Regions from separate parts of the Homo sapiens genome. Here regions 2, 3 and 4 are each linked to region 1. The links are contacts of gene promoters, found by promoter capture Hi-C in human tissues and cell types (Jung and others, 2019). All regions are on one chromosome and are shown on one strand. Each heading gives the region's core, a stretch centred on a gene start or on the middle of the fragment in contact. The rest is flanking DNA. Distances are from core to core; before and after follow the strand shown.

What was found. The method cuts DNA at HindIII sites, captures the fragments that hold promoters and counts their contacts. A contact is called where the count stands out against the background at its distance.
Region 2: a contact is called between a fragment that was not itself captured here and the fragment with the promoter of NUDT1 in region 1, in 2 of the 25 tissues and cell types used here (lymphoblastoid cells and spleen).
Region 3: a contact is called between a fragment that was not itself captured here and the fragment with the promoter of NUDT1 in region 1, in 2 of the 25 tissues and cell types used here (mesenchymal stem cells and mesendoderm cells).
Region 4: a contact is called between a fragment that was not itself captured here and the fragment with the promoter of NUDT1 in region 1, in 1 of the 25 tissues and cell types used here (lymphoblastoid cells).

What each region holds. Positions count from the first base shown.
Region 1 is chr7:2,240,474-2,244,209 of GRCh38, reverse strand. It overlaps NUDT1 (nudix hydrolase 1), which reads right to left and starts at 1,984. Exons shown (of 4, transcript NM_002452.4): 1 at 1,954-1,984. MRM2 (mitochondrial rRNA methyltransferase 2) reads left to right here and starts at 2,005. Exons shown (of 3, transcript NM_013393.3): 1 at 2,005-2,048. The coding sequence starts at 2,041. RefSeq lists a silencer at 2,079-2,298 and an enhancer at 2,621-3,472. The HindIII fragment of the contact is 10,120 bases long and covers 1-3,736 here.
Region 2 is chr7:2,019,781-2,023,516 of GRCh38, reverse strand. All of the region lies in intron 12 of MAD1L1 (mitotic arrest deficient 1 like 1), which reads left to right. Among named protein-coding and RNA genes, the nearest start is that of SNORA114, 67 kb to the left of the region's middle. RefSeq lists enhancers at 2,705-3,524, 3,566-3,715. The HindIII fragment of the contact is 8,467 bases long and covers 1-3,736 here.
Region 3 is chr7:2,036,207-2,039,942 of GRCh38, reverse strand. All of the region lies in intron 12 of MAD1L1 (mitotic arrest deficient 1 like 1), which reads left to right. Among named protein-coding and RNA genes, the nearest start is that of SNORA114, 51 kb to the left of the region's middle. The HindIII fragment of the contact is 3,001 bases long and covers 642-3,642 here.
Region 4 is chr7:2,074,329-2,078,064 of GRCh38, reverse strand. The region is part of intron 11 of MAD1L1 (mitotic arrest deficient 1 like 1); the gene reads left to right. Among named protein-coding and RNA genes, the nearest start is that of SNORA114, 13 kb to the left of the region's middle. The HindIII fragment of the contact is 9,448 bases long and covers 1-3,736 here.

The sequences.
Region 1 (3,736 bases), core at 735-3,234:
GGCACACAGTGAGGAACAACAGTCCCCGTGCCTGATTGGCACCAAAATAACCACGCAGTTTATCCTGTGGTCCTCAGGTCAGGCCTTTGGATTAACAGGAACTTCTTTCAGTCTAGTGGGACCTGGCCTCTCTGTAGCAGGCTTCCAGATTCCCAGGAAATGTGTGGCTGTAGACACAGGTCCACCCAGCCAGGCCCGGCTAGTCCTCCCTCCTGTGATAGGAGTTTATACCCCACCCACTCTGCTCCTGCTGTGGCTACTGTGGGACCTGGCACCCAGGGGGGCCACTGGAAGTCACAAGGGTCCTTCCTGCTCCCATAGGTGTGCAGGTCCAGGTCCAGAGGACTCTGAGGGCGATGCCTCCGCCAGGTCCCTGCTGAAAAAAGGACCCTGGAGAAATGCTGGAGGGCCAGGACCAACTTTCCTTTATTTATTTTGAGACAAGATCCTGCTCTGTTGCCCAGGCTGGAGGAGAGTGGCGTGATCGCGGTTCACTGTAACCTCCGCCTCCCTGGCTGAAGCCATCCTCCTGCCTCAGCATCCCACATAGCTGGGACCACAGGCATGAGCCGCCACACCCAGCTAATTTCTGTATTTTTAGTAGAGATGGGGTTTTGTCACGTTGCCCAGGCTGGTCACGAACTCCTGAGCTCAAGCGATCCACCCACCTCAGCCTCCCAAAGTGCTGAGATTACAGGCGTGAGCCACTGCGCCCAGCCAGGACCAACTTTTCTGGGGTCCACACCTGGACAAGACACAGGGTTCAGGACCAGTGATCCTTCTTGGAAGTTGTGGTGTCTGAGAAAAGGGACCAGATGATAAGGAAGGGGGCAGGGAAGTGCTGGGTAGAGGAGGGCGTGGTCTCTGGCCAGGGCTCCACACCCAGGCCTGTGCCCAGGGACCTGGGTGAGGACAGGCATTTCTGTTTTTTTGCCCAAATGTTGCATTTCCCGAGCCCGCCACGTCCCCGTCCTGTGCCTATAAAAAAACCCCAGTGGTTTTTTATAGTGGGCAGAGACACAAGCCGCTGGACGTCAAGAGGACGTGGAAAGCACACCAACAGGCACCAGCAGGCCATCAACTGATGGAACCATGAGTTTGGCAGGGGCGGTCAGAGGAGAGCCCAGGCTGCTCAGCAGCCCGACTCCAGGGGAAAATCACCTTCCCACTCCAACTGCCTTCTGGCTCCCCCATCTGCTGAGGGCTAATTCCACTCATAAAACCTTGCACTCACTCTCCAAGCCGCCGTGTGATCTGATTGCTCCAGTACATCAAGGCAAGAAACCTAGGGATACAGAAAGCCCTCTGTCCTTGCGATAAGGCAGGGAGTCTAACAGCTGACTAACACAAGCCACCTACAAGGCTAAACTGAAAGAGCACCCTCTAACACATGCCTGCTGGGGCTTCAGGAGCTGCAAACATTCACCCCTAGACACTGCCGTGGGGTGGGAGCCCCTCAGCCTGCCTGTCTGTATGTTCCCCTAGAGGCTTGAGAAGCGGGGCACTGAAGAAGTGAGCCACATCCTCATCGCACGCCCTTCGAGGAGGACAAGGGAACCTTTCCCATTTCACTGAGACTGGGTCCTGGTGGCGGAGGCAGGTCAGACAGGGTAAATGGGTTTGTGGCTTAGTTTCACACCAGGCCCGTGTACTTTGTCCCGACACTGATCTGTTTCTGCCAGAAGCCACGGTTTCCAAAGTAAATTTTTGTGATTTACTCCTGGTCTCCCCCAAGCCTCCGCCCCGCTCTCCTTGTCTCTCTCCCAAACCCCCGGCCCCGCTCTCCTCGTCTCCCTCGAGCCCCCGACCCTGCTCTTCTGGTCTCCTTCGAGCTCCCGGCCCCGCTCTCCCCCAAGCCCATGGCTCAGCTCCCCTAGTCTCCTGCCGCCCGCTGGCCCGGCTCCCCTCCCTGGTCACCACGACTCCTGGAATCCCCGCGCGCGCTTTTCGTACCTGCACCGCCGCTTCCGGGGGCGTGGCCTCTGACCGGAAGTGAGGCCAGGCACTTCCGGCGGCGCGCTGCAGGCGCGGGGAACACCAATGGCGGGGTGAGCTGGGCGCTGCTGCTGCGCGTGCAGACAGCGGGAGTGGTTGGGGGTCCGCCCGGTCGCCTTCCTCGGTCCTGGCCTCGGGGCTGGGTGCCGAGCGCTGGGCACCGTCCCCGCACTCAGCGAGCGCGACAGGGGCGAGGCCAGGATTCCGGGTCGCAGTTCCCCGGGAGGAGGGCGCCCTCAGGTCTCCAGGGGCAGGGCCGGCGGGGCCGTGGGGAGGCCGGGGCCGGCGGCGGAGTCCAGGTGGGGGGCGCAGCGCCGGGGCCCAGATCCAAGGCGCCGGGGGCGAGCCCGGGGCGGGATTTCGCTTCTGGGCCGGGTAGCTCCATTGCCCGCGCTTCCTGGGCTGTCGAGTGGGCCCTGGCCCCCGGGACCGGCTTGTGCCATTTTCCCGGGAGACCCCTTAAGCGAGGGGAAGACAGCGACTCACGGTCAGCAGTCAGTGCCTCCTGGCTTGTCAGCACGCTTTGGTGTTGCAGAAGCTAGAAGCTTTGGCCTTGGAGCCATGAGGGTGGTAACTTTTATTTATTTATTTAAATCAGAAAGATGGACATAGAGACCGGGCTTGGTGGCCCACACCTGTCATCCCAGCACTTTGGAAGTCTGAGGCAGGAGGATCGTTTGAGCCTAGGAGTTCGAGACCAGCCTAGGCAATGTAGTGAGATGCCATCTCTAAAAAAGGTTTTTAAGAATTAAAAAAAAAAAAAAAATTAGCCCAGGCATGGTGGTGCACACCTGTAGTCCCAGCTACTCAGGAGGCTGAGGTGGGAGGTTCACTTGAGACCCAGAGGTTATGGCAGCAATCAGCTGTGATTGTGCCACTGCAACTCCAGCCTGGATGATAGCAAAACAAAAATGGCCGGGTGAGGTGGTTCACGCCTGTAATCCCAGCACTTTGGGAGGCCAAGGTGGGCTGATCGCCAGAGGTCAGGAGTTCGAGACCAGCTCGGCCAACATGGTGAAATCCCATCTCTACTGAAAATAGAAAAATTAGCCGGAAGTGGTGGCACACACCTGTAGTCTCAGCTACTCAGGAGGCTGAGGTGGGAGGTTCACTTGAGCCCCAGAGGCTGTGGCTGCAGTCAGCTGTGATCATGCCACTGCACTCCAGCCTGGGTAATAGTAAAACCCTGTCTCTAAAAAAACAAAAAGAAGAAAGAAATGCCTGGGTGCAGTGGCTTACACCTGTAATCCCAGCACTTTGGGAGGCCAAGGCGGGCAGATCAGCGGAGGTCAGGAGTTTGAGACCAGCCTGGCCAACATGGTGGAACCCATCTATACTGAAAATACAAACATTAGCCGGACATGGTAGCAGGTGTGCCTGTAATCCCAGCTACTTGGGAGGCTGGGGCAGGAGAATTGCTTGAACCCGGGAGTCGGAGGCTGCAGTGAGCTGTCACTGCACTCCAGCCTGGGCGCCAGAGTGAGACTCCGTCTTAAAAAAAGAAAAAGAGGACATAGAACTTCCTTGGTGAGGTTGTTGTCAGAGTTAAACAAGGGGAGGTGTGTATAGCTTCCACCTGCTTAGCTATTGTGGGCTGTGAATAAATTGTTACATTTATTGTAACAATTGTCTAGAGAATCTTGGAAATTGTCCTTCAACGATTGACACAGGTTTAGTTCAATTTTATTTAAGACATGTAGGTGAGAGGATTGTTTGAGCCCAGGAGTTCGAATCTGCGTTG
Region 2 (3,736 bases), core at 809-3,308, 220 kb after region 1:
ATCCTACAATTTTGATAGGTTGTATTTTCATTTTCTTGTTCAAACTATTCTTAAACTTCTCTTGAGACTTCTTTGACCCATGCGTTATTTACAAGTGGATTGTTTAGTCTCCAAATATCTTGGGATTTTTCAGTTATCTTTCTGTTACTGATTTCCAGTTTAATTTTAGTGTGGTCTGAGAGCTTACTTTATATACTTTATATTCTTTTTAATTTCTTTAGGTGTGTTTTATGGCCCAAATGTGGTCTGTCTAGGTAAATTTTCCATATGAGTTTGAGAGGAATATATATTCTGCTGTTGATGCAGTGTTCTGTCATTGTCATTTAGACCCAGTTGATTGATGGGGCTATTGAATTCTGCTGTGTCCTCACTGATTTTCTGCCTGCGGGATCTGTCCGTTTCTGATAAGAGGGTGTTGAAGCCTCCAACTGTAACAGTGAATTGAGCCATTTCTCCTTGTAGTTCTTTCAGGTTTTCCTCGCATATTTTGAGACACTGTTGTTAAGTAGATGCATGTTAAGGGCGGTCATGTCTTCTTGGAGAAATGACCTTTTTATCGGAATGGAGTGCCATTTTTCATTCCTGATCGTTTCCTTGTTCTGCCTGAGATTGATCAAGCTGCTCCACCGTTCTTTTATTTGGGCTTAGTGTGGTCTAGCTTTCTTCCTTTCCTTTCAAAGTGTGTTTATATTTTAAGTGGGTTCCTTATAAACAGCATATAATTGGGTCTTGTTTTTTTAATCCATCCTGACCGTCTTTTAATTGGTGTGTTTAGATCATTCACATTCGAAATGATCGTTGATACTGTTAATACCTGCCATGTTTGTTACTCTTTTCTATTGGGACACTTGTTCTTTGTTTTTTTTAAATCTTCTTTTCTTTATCTGCTTTGTTTGGTTTTAACTGAGCATGTTATATGATTTAATTTTTTAATTCTGTTAGCACAGAATTTTTTTTTTCTTTTGGAGACAGAGTTTTGCTCTTGTCGCCCAGGCTGGGGTACAGTGGCGTGATCTTGCCACCATGCCCGGCTAATTTTTGTATTTTTAGTAGAGACAGGGTTTCGCCATGTTGGCCAGGCTGGTCTTGAACTCCTGACCTCGGGTGATCCACCTGCCTCAGCCTCCCAAAGTGCTGGGATTACAGGCATGAGCCAAGCACAGAATTATCCTAGAGTTTGCAGCATACATTTAGCATGAATCTAAGCCCATGGTCAGATGGCCTTTGACCAGGTCACAGGCAGGGTGGGCGCCTCCCGCAGAACACGCCCATTCCCCTTGCCTCCCGTGCCACCTGCTGCTTCATTTCACCCATCCCTGCACCATCGTCACCCCACACATTGCTGCTCCTATACTTCAAACAATCGTCCATTAGATGAACGAGACTAAGGAAAGTAAGCTAGGCTCAGCGGCTCACAGCTGCAGTCCCAGCGACTTGGGAGGCTGAGGTGGGAGGATCACTTGAGCCCCAGAGGTAGAGGTTGCAGTGAGCTATGATCACACCACTGCACTCCAGCCTGGGCAACAGAGTGAGACTCTGTCTCGAAAAAAACAGATGAATAAAGTAGATTTTATTTTTCCTTATTTGTTACTTCTCTGCTCTGTCTTTCCACATAGATCTGAGTTTCTGACCTCTCATGGGATTCTCTGGAGAATCCACCTCACACTGCTTACAGGGGCCAGGGCTGCCAATGACCAATCTCCCCCAGTTTTCGTTTGTCTAAGAGAGTGTTTTTTGTTTGTTTGTTTGTTTGAGACAGAGTCTCACTCTGTTGCCCAGGCTGGAGTGCAGTGGTGCGATCTTGGCTCACTATAGCCTCCACTTCCTGGGTTCAAGCGATTCTCCTGCCTCAGCCTCCCGAGTAGCTGGGATTACAGGCGCCTATTACCATGCCCAGCTAACTTTTCTACTTTCAGTAGAGACGAGGTTTCGCCGCATTGTCCAGGATGGTCTCAAACTCCTCTGACACCAGACCATCTGCCTGCCTTGGCTCCCCAAAGTGCTGAGATTACAAGTGTGAGCCAGTGTGCCCCGCTGAGAGTTTTTCTTTCTGCTTTTCTTACAGAAGATCATCTTGCTGGATGCAGAATTCCAGGCTGGTGCTGTTTTGTTTCAGTACTTGGATACCTCCCTCCCCTCTCTGCTGCCTGAGTGGCTTCGGTCAGGAGGTCTGATGCATTTCTCACTCTCTTGGTTGATAATGAAGGGCTCTCCCTTCTCAGGCTGTCTTATTTTCCACAGTTGAATATGATATGGCTAAGTGTGGAGTTTTTGGTATTTTTCCTGCTTGATGTTCTCTGAGCTTCCTGGATCTGGGGTTTAGATTTGACAAATCTCGGCCATTATCACGGCAGATACTTACTGTGTTCGCTCCTCGCCTCCTTCTCCTTCTGGTTTTCCTGTCATGAGTAGGTTCCACCTTCACGGTCATCCCACTGTTCTTAGGTCGCCTCTTCTTTTGTTTTCATTGCTTTTTCCTCAGTGCATTTTAGTACGGGAAGTTTCTGTGGACCTGTTTTTACATTTGCTCATTTATGCTCTCATCTTTATTTTTATTCCTATACTTTCTGCATATGTTGTTTTGTTTTTTTTCATTTTTTATGTTGGTTAGTTAGCTTGCTACTTTCAGTTTTAGCCTTTCTACTCTAACCATTAAATTAATACATTTTCTTCTAAGTTATTCATTCTTGAGATTGTGCCACTGCACCGTAGCCTAGACGACAGAGCAAGACCTTGTCTTAAAAAAAAAAAAAAGTATTCTTTTTGCTTAGGCCGCTGTCGTCTCAGATGAAGTTTCTCCTGTCTTGTGTGTGTTTTTAACTAGTGCCTGAAGTCCGTCCGATGTTTTCCTTCGTCTCTGCCCACAGCCACCGGGTCAGCCTCCCTCCCAGGAGGCCCCTAGACTCCGGGTACCAGGGCAGCCCGGGCAGGTGAGAGAGGACCCAGGGAGCTGGCTTTGCTCTCACAGAGGCGGGGTCCTCATGGTGTTCTGCTCTAGCTTGTTCCCATGATGTCAGGGCCGGGCGTCCCCCTGCGGCTCGGTCTCACAGCTGCCGTGTGCCCATGGCGTTCCGTCCTCTGAAGGCTGCTGGGAACTGCAGGGTCAGAGCCGCAGGAAGGCAAGGGTGGGGGCCGCATGGTGCCGGGGCCGGGTGCACGCCTTGATGGGAATGCTGGGGTCACGCTGGGGCTGTGGATAGCAATCTCGGGCCTCGTGAGTTCCTCCTTCCGGCAGCCCAGAGCGGGGGTTAGTGCCCCCCCCGATCATGGAGAGCCACTTCCAGTGGTCTCACCAGTGAGGCTGTCCATGGCACTGCCTCCCCGGGCTGGGCGCTGACCCCGGGACTGTAGGGCCGCAGCCTGGGCGGCTCCTCTGTTTGCAGCACCAGCCGGGGCTCTGCCCCTCCGTGGTCTGAGCGACAGGGCAGCCACAACAGCTCGCAGCTGCTGAGTCCTCTTCCCTCAGCCCTGTGCCTGCCTGGCGGTTCTGAAGATCAAATGAGGTAACGTGTGCTTAAGTCATATGTAGCATTAGCATGCTGTGCTGATGTCACCAATTAAAATCTGCCTGAGTGAATCATACTTGAAAACAGTCAGTTGTCAAAAAAAAAAACCTCGTTTAGGGGCAGCAGGCCCAGGAAAGAGAAGCGAGGGACAGACAGGAGGCGAAGCGTTCTGTAGTTGGTTGTGGGGGCCAGGGCATCCGGCCCAGGAGCAGGCGTGGGCCGAGCACAGG
Region 3 (3,736 bases), core at 893-3,392, 200 kb after region 1:
TTCTTTATTTCACTTATTTTTGCTCTAATATTTATTATTTCGTTCCTTCTGCTTGGGTCAACTGAAGTTGGACTCCATCAAGATTAAAATTTTTGCCCCGTGAAAGTTCCTGTGAAGAGATGAAAAGACAAGGTAGAGATAAAGAGGAACTATTTGCAAGCTTCATATCTGACAAAGACGATTTGTTATCTGTAATAGATGAGAAAACTCTCAAAACTCAGTAATAGAAAAACAAAACAGACACACCTAATTAGCAAACAAGCAAAAGATATAGACAGACCTTTTTACCAAATAACATATACAGATGACAGTTAAGCCCGTGGAAAGATGTTCAACATCATTAGTCATGAGGGAAATGCAAGTTAAAACCACAGTGAGGTGTCACTGCACACCTGTCAAAGTTCAGAAACGGACACCATCAGATGCCAGTCAGTGTGTAGAGAAACTCCATCTCTGGTGCCTTGCTGATGGGAGAGTGACAGGGTGCAGCCACCCTGGAACCAGCTCGAGGGTTTCTTAAAAACTGCACTGCAGCTCCCATATGACCAGCAGTCGCATTCCTGGGTGTCGATTCCAGTGAAATAAAACCGAGGTTCGGACAAAACCCGACAGAGGACTCTTCCTAGCAGCTTTTGCATAATGGCCAAAAACTGGAAAGAATTCTGATGTCCTTCGGTGGTGATGGTTAAACAACGGTAGTGCCTCCGTCACACAGAGTAATACTCAGGACTAAGAAGGAATTCACTGTGGATAAACATACTTGAATAGATCTCCAGGGAGTTTAGCGGAGCGAAGAGCCCAGTCCCTGAAGGTCGTGTGCTGCATGATCCCATTTGCATGACGTTATTAAAAGGCTGAAGTGATAGACAGCCTGTGGATGGCTGCCGTGAGTTACGGAGACGCACAGGAGGAATCGTGGCTGTGAACGGACAACCCGAGGGGTTTTTGTGGTGATGAAATGTGCTGTATCTTGACTGTATCATTGTCGGCATACGGGTTGTGATACTGTGCTGTAGTTGTGCCAGATGTTGCTATTGGGAGGAACTGGATGAATGCTACTTGTGATCTCTGTATTATTTTTTATAGCTCCAAGTGAATCTGTAATTGGATCAAAATAAAAAGCTTAGATCAGGCACAGTAGCTGATGCATGGAATCCCAGCACTTTGAGAGGTCGAGGTGGGCGGATCACTTGAGGTCAGCAGGAGTTCGAGACCATCCTGGCCAGCATGGTGAAACCCTGTCTCTACTAAAAATACAAAAAATTAGTGAGGCGTGGTGGCACACACTTGTAATCCCGGCTACTTGGGAGGCTGAGGCAGGAGAATTGCTTGAACCCAGAAGGCGGAGGTTGCAGTGAGCCAAGATTGTGCCACCGTGCTCCAGCCTGGGTGACAGAATGAGTGAGACTGTGTCTCAAAAAAAAAAAAAAAAAAAAAAAAAAAAGTCATCAGCTTCATTATCTCCTAACAGCATCAGCTTGTCCTCTGAAACTTTGAAGGCAGGGATCGACTTCTCCTCTGTAACTGTAAAAGCCCTAGACGGCATCTTCCAGCAGAAGGCTGTTTTATGTGCACTGCAAATCTGGTGTTTAGTGTGGCCACCTTCATTGGTGCTCTTAGCTGGATCTTCTGGAGAACTTGCTGCAGCTTCTCCGTCAGCACTTGCGGCTTCACCTTGTACTTTTATGTGATGGGGACTGCCTCTTAATGTAAACCTCATGAACCCACCTCTGCTAGCTTCAGACTTGAATTCTGCAGCTTTCCCACCTCTCTCAGCCTCGTGGAACTTGCTCTGACTTAAGGGAATGTTGGGGCTGGTTTGATCTATCCAGACCACTCAGACTTCTCCGTATCAGCAATAAGACAGTTTCACTTTCTTATCGTTGGTGTGTTCAGTGGAGCAGCACTTTTAATTTCCTCCAAGAACTTTCCCTTTGCATTCACAACTTGGCGAGCTGTTTGGCACGAGAGGCCTGGCTTTCGGCTTATCTTTGCTTTTGGCACGCCTTCCTCACTAAGCTTAATCCTTTCTAGCTTTTGGTTTAAAGGAGAGACATGCGACTCTTCCTTTCTCTTGAATGCTTAGAGGCTGTTGTAGGGTTATTAATTGGCCTGATTTTAATACTGTTGTGTCGCCCAGGGAATAGAGAGGCCCAAGGAGAGGGAGGGAGGGAGATGGCTGGTCAGTGAAGCAGCCAGACACAAGCAGCGTTGGTCGGTGAAGCTTTTGCCGTCTGAGGAGCATAGTGTGTGGCGTCCCAGAATCAATGACAGCAGTAAGATCGGAGACCGCCGATCACAGACCACAACAGACATAACAGTGATGCAATGTCGGAAGTACAGTCAGGACGTGGCGCCCCAGAATCAATGACAGTAGTAAGATCAGAGACCACCCATTACAGACCACAACAGATATAATAGTGATACAATGTCTGAAACGCCATGAGGATTACCAGATGTGACAGAGCCGTGTAGGGAGCACATGCTGTTGGGAACATGGTGCCTCGCCGAAGGCAGGACGGCCACAAGCCTTCCATTTGTAAGAAGCACAGTATCTGTGTAGTCCAGGAGAGCAAGGCGTGCCTGGGTCCATGCTGGCTCCTTATTGTGGCCAGCACACTGTGCTCGTGTAAGATGTTAACAGTGGGGCACCTGGGTGTGGAATATGTGAAAAGTCTCTACCATCTTCTCCATTCTTCTAAATCTAAACCCGTTCTAAAAAAAAAAAAAAAAAAGAAGAGTCTATTAAGAAGACAAAGAAGGAGCCGAAATTTCCACGTGGCAGAAGGCACTGGAACCGGTGAGATCTGATGTGTACCTGGGCCTGATCCACGTTTGCTGCATGGCTGGACACCTTCGTGGGCGCGTGGAAGCTCATGCTGTGGGGGGAGCTGTGGGAGGAGCATGCGGCAGGTGGAGGTCTTCTGCGCGTGGGTGGGCACGCGGAAGCTCGTGCTGTGGGGGGAGCTGTGGGAGGAGTGCTGGAGGAGCCCTGGGAGGAGTGTTCAGGAGGCGGAGCGTGCCTCGTGCGCGTTGGTGGGTATGAGTGGCGTTGGTGGGATCTAGCTGACCACCTCCCACCTGGTTGGTCTGCATCTGTAGACAGCTTAGTTCTTAGGATTCTAGGTACCCAGTGTCATTTCCGACACCTGCTTGGGCTCCCTGTACTGCCAGGGCTGTTGAGTCTTTACAGCACCTCTGATCAGGAGCCCTGGCCTTGGGGAGGTGGGACAGGCACACGTCTGGGTTGCTGGGTTGCCTTTAGGGGTAAGCTCTTCCTTTTGTCTTCTGTTCAAAAGAGGGCCCACAGTGGATTCAGGCCTCTGATTTACCACTGCCTGGAGCTTGGGGAATGCTCTCCAGTGACAACCTGGGCTTCCGTGGGATTTAATTTTGATATATTGGCCTTTGTGTGTAGGAAGAGTCCAAACTCACGACCGGATGGATTGTCCTCCTCAGACTAGACACTTCATCCAGAGAGGACTCTGAGCCAACCCTAAGGGATTCAGGCTGGAGCTCTGGTTCCCCGCACGGAGGTGGCGCAGGAATGCATCGTCCTCCCCTGTCCTGACTTGTCAGCGCTCCTGCGCTCATGCCTGGGAGCCTGGACCCCAGCTCTGTCCCGACTTGTCAGTGCTCCCGCGCTCATGCCTGGGAGCCTGGACCCCAGCTCTGTCCCGACTTGTCAGTGCTCCCGCGCTCATGCCTGGGAGCCTGGACCCCAGCTCTGTCCCGA
Region 4 (3,736 bases), core at 543-3,042, 170 kb after region 1:
CCCTTCCCCGGTGTTCCCTCTTAGCAAGGAGCGAATGTGGATGCCTGAACATGCTCAGTGTTGCTTCTGCCCTGTCTGGGAACCCTGGCCTTCCGGGAGAGTATTTCTGAAACCAGTTCGTGCTCCATTTAAAATTTTGCCTCTAGATCCAGGCTGCTGCGAGGCTCCCCGACGGGCGCCTGTGAACACAGCTCTGTGTACAGTTCTTGTGACTGGAGGACGAGCACGTGTGGTTTGGGAGGTTGTTCTGTCCAGCGATATCCTCTTTCAGAACCTGTGGGTGCTTCCGGAGCAGAGCAGGGCAGGCTGTCCACTGGGGCTGGAGCCTGTCCTCTGCTCCCTGCTAGCCTCCTGGATCCTTGTCTCCTGCTCCCGCGCGCCTCCTGCAGAACGGCACTGCTTTTTGTCTCGTGTACCTGCTCCAGGCCACCAGTTAGAGTTCACTGCTCCCCGCTGGGTCGCAGCCCTCCCAACCGCTGGCTCAGCCAAGCCCGTGCACTTGCTCTCTTCCTGAGAGACACATGGAACGTGTCACCTGTGTGGCAGTGCTGTTGCTTGGCCCGACTGGGGCGTCTCCCCCCAGCCCTATGGGGGTGCTCAAGGCATGGCCCTGGAGACCCTGGAGGTCAGTACAGTGGTGTCCTGGGGGACACGGTGGCTTCATGCTCATGACTCAGTCGCTCAAGGCTTGAATTTACTCATCTGTAAAATCGAGATGATTAAAAATCATACTTGTGGGTGGGTCTTGATCTATGTTCCTCAGATAGCTAAGAATAAAGGTGCTTTTAGAGATTTTGCCAAGGTTCGAATACAATTTTATTAGTATTTTCCTAGTTTCATGCCAGACGTCATCACTGAGGATCACCGTGCATGCGGCTGTGTTTACATCTTAACCCTTGAGGCCACTGGCAGGCTCACCGTGCTGCGAGCTCACCATGTCGTAACCATCTCGGGCTCACCATGCCGCGGGCTCACCAAGTCGTAACTCTGTCTTGGGCTCACCATGCCGCGGGCTCACCAAGTCGTAACTCTGTCTCGGGCTCACCGTGCCGTGAGCTCACTGTGTCATAACCGTCTCGGGCTCACCATGCTGCGGGCTCACCGTGCCGCGGGCTCACTGTGCCATAACTGTCTCGGGCTGACCATGCTGTGGGCTCACTATGTCGTAACCCTGTCTTGGGCTCACCGTGCCACAGGCTCACCATGTTGTAACCGTCTCAGGCTGACCGTGCTGCGGGCTCATCGTGTCGTAACCATCTCAGGCTCACTGTGCCGTGAGCTCACCATGTCGTAACCGTCTTGGGCTCACCATGTTGCGGGCTCACCAAGTCGTAACCCTGTCTCAGGGTCACCATGCCATGTGCTCGCTGTGTCATACCTGTGTCTCGGGCTCACTGTGCTGCAGGCTAACTGTGCTGTGGGCTCACTGTGTCATAACTGTGTTGGGGCAGTCATCAGCCCGGAAGCCTCGGTGTGACCCCATGCCCATGTGTGAACAGTGTGTCTGGGCGTTATGGGTTAGGAGACCGTCTGTGTTCGGGCTCACTTAACAAAGTACCATAGTCGGGGATCTGAACAGACGTCCGTTTCTCACAGCTGTGGAGCTGAGGAGTGCAGGATGGCAGTGCCGGGTCTGAGGAGGGCTCTCTTCCTGGTTTGCAGATGACCAGCCCCTGTCCTCACAGGGCAGAGGGAGAGGACTCGAGCTTTGTGCTGCTTACAACTTGCGCATCCCATTGGGAGCACTCCGCCCTCAGGACCGAATGCCCTCTCAGGGGCCCCCGTTTGGTCACCATCACATTGGGGATCTGGGTTTTCACAGGTGAACTTGGGACGACACAGGCATTCTGTGCACTGCCCAAAACGTGCTGGTTTTGCCCTGGGCCCGGGCGTGGCTGTGGAGGCGTCTTCATACCCTGTGGATCCACACTCCAGGCACCACTCAGCCTTGTGACTGGGGCGGGAACAGCCGCCTCATACCATCCCAAGGGTCGGATCAGGTCCCGGGAGCACACAACTGCTTCGCCTTAGACCCCAGCACCACCTGTCCTGGCCTCTCTCAGAGCCTGTCTCCCGCGGTGGCCACGCCGTGGGCTCCTGTGCTCCAGAGCCCCATGGTTTCTGGGGAGAGTCCAGTGATGCCTGTTTGTGCGATGCCTGCCCTTGCCTTGGCGGGTGCTCACAGTGGGCTGGGACTTGGGAGAAGGTAGACAAAGAGTGTGTGGGAGGAATGGGTCGTGCGTGGAAGAGCTGGCTCAGCAGTGTCTTGAGGAAGGTCGTTAAAATGTCTCCTGCCACTTTGGGATACATTGTGTCCTTTCGTTGTTCCTTGAAAGTCGGTATTCTTAGGCCGGGAGTTTCTGATGAAGATCACATTAAAGTGGCCGGCAGTGGCTGGTCACAGCGCAGATGGATGCTCAGAAGCTCAGAGCTTGTTCTTTGAGTAGAGGCTGGCTCAGAGAGCCATTGATTGATAAACATGCCTGGCTTCTCCTTGAGGAACTAAGAACTTCATTCTGAACTCCCAGAGGCTCACGGAAATGCCAGTGACCTCAGAGTTCAGTCCAAGCATGGAACTAGAGGCTTAATTTTTTGAGTTTTCTCTTCTGTACCTCAGAAGAAAGGCCGGGATTGAACAGAGAGAACATCCCCAACAGGGGAGAGCCCGCCGTCGCTGGTGCCGCTGTGGCTCAGCGTGCTGGGTCCCGGTGCCCTGCAGGGCCTGAGGGGTGGGAGGCAGAGGCCATCTTGCCGGAGCGCCTCTACCTGCACGCCTGGGTGGGCAGCACCACTTGTTGGCGGTGTCTGAAACGCTAGATGGGGGGCCTTTAGGCTGCACTCTGGGGCCGTCCACTTTGTGCCGGCCCTTCCTGCACCTCCAGGGCTTGGCTCCTAATTGCCACTTCCTCGGGTCTTCAGGACAGGGCTGCCTCTGCTGGACCTTCCCCTCCTCTCGAGACGCCGGCACCTCATGGACACATGCCAGCCTGCTCCTTGCCTTCCTGCCCCTCTGGCTCAGCCCGCTCTCCACGTCCCGTGCAGAGGCCGTTCCTGGTTTGCTCGTCCTCTTGTGACCTTGCCCATTGCTCCCGGTTGGCCCAACCTCGGGCCCACTGGGCTGACCACGAATGAGCACGCCAGCTGCCCATTGGAAGCGTCCCCGGCTCTGACACCGCCTGTCTCTGACACCACAGGCTGTCCCGCCACCCCTCCCCGAGGGCCCCCCCAGCCTCCGGTTTCCCCTCCAGTGTCAGGAGGCACCTGCTTGCTGGTTTGCTGATGGCCTGTCTTCTGCCCATTGTGGTTACTGAGTTGTTGCCTCGCAGCTCCACACTCCCTTCTCTGAGCCCTACTTTGCGGTGCCAGGGCTGCAGCCCACACCTGCGCTTCGCCAGGGAGTGCCTGTCCTGGGGGCGCTGGAGAGGGCCCGGGGTCAGCCTGCAGGCAAGTGGGGCAGCTCTTTAGCCGCTGGCCTTGCCCCCTCCCAGCAGCCTGCCAGCCTGCAGATTCCGTAGCGCCTAGAGGTGCCAGCTCCATGGGCTGCTGCCCTGTTCTCAGAGGCCTGGGTCCAGGCCCTCCAGGGTCCCCATGCAGACACCAGCATGGCCTCCCTCAGCAGCCTCAGTTCCTGTTCCATGGGGCCCATCTCTGAGTGTCTACATTTTAATGATGTCAGCCTCTGCCCCGTGTTCCCACAGCCCAAGGGCTGGGAGCTGCTTCCTGAAGTCACTGCGTC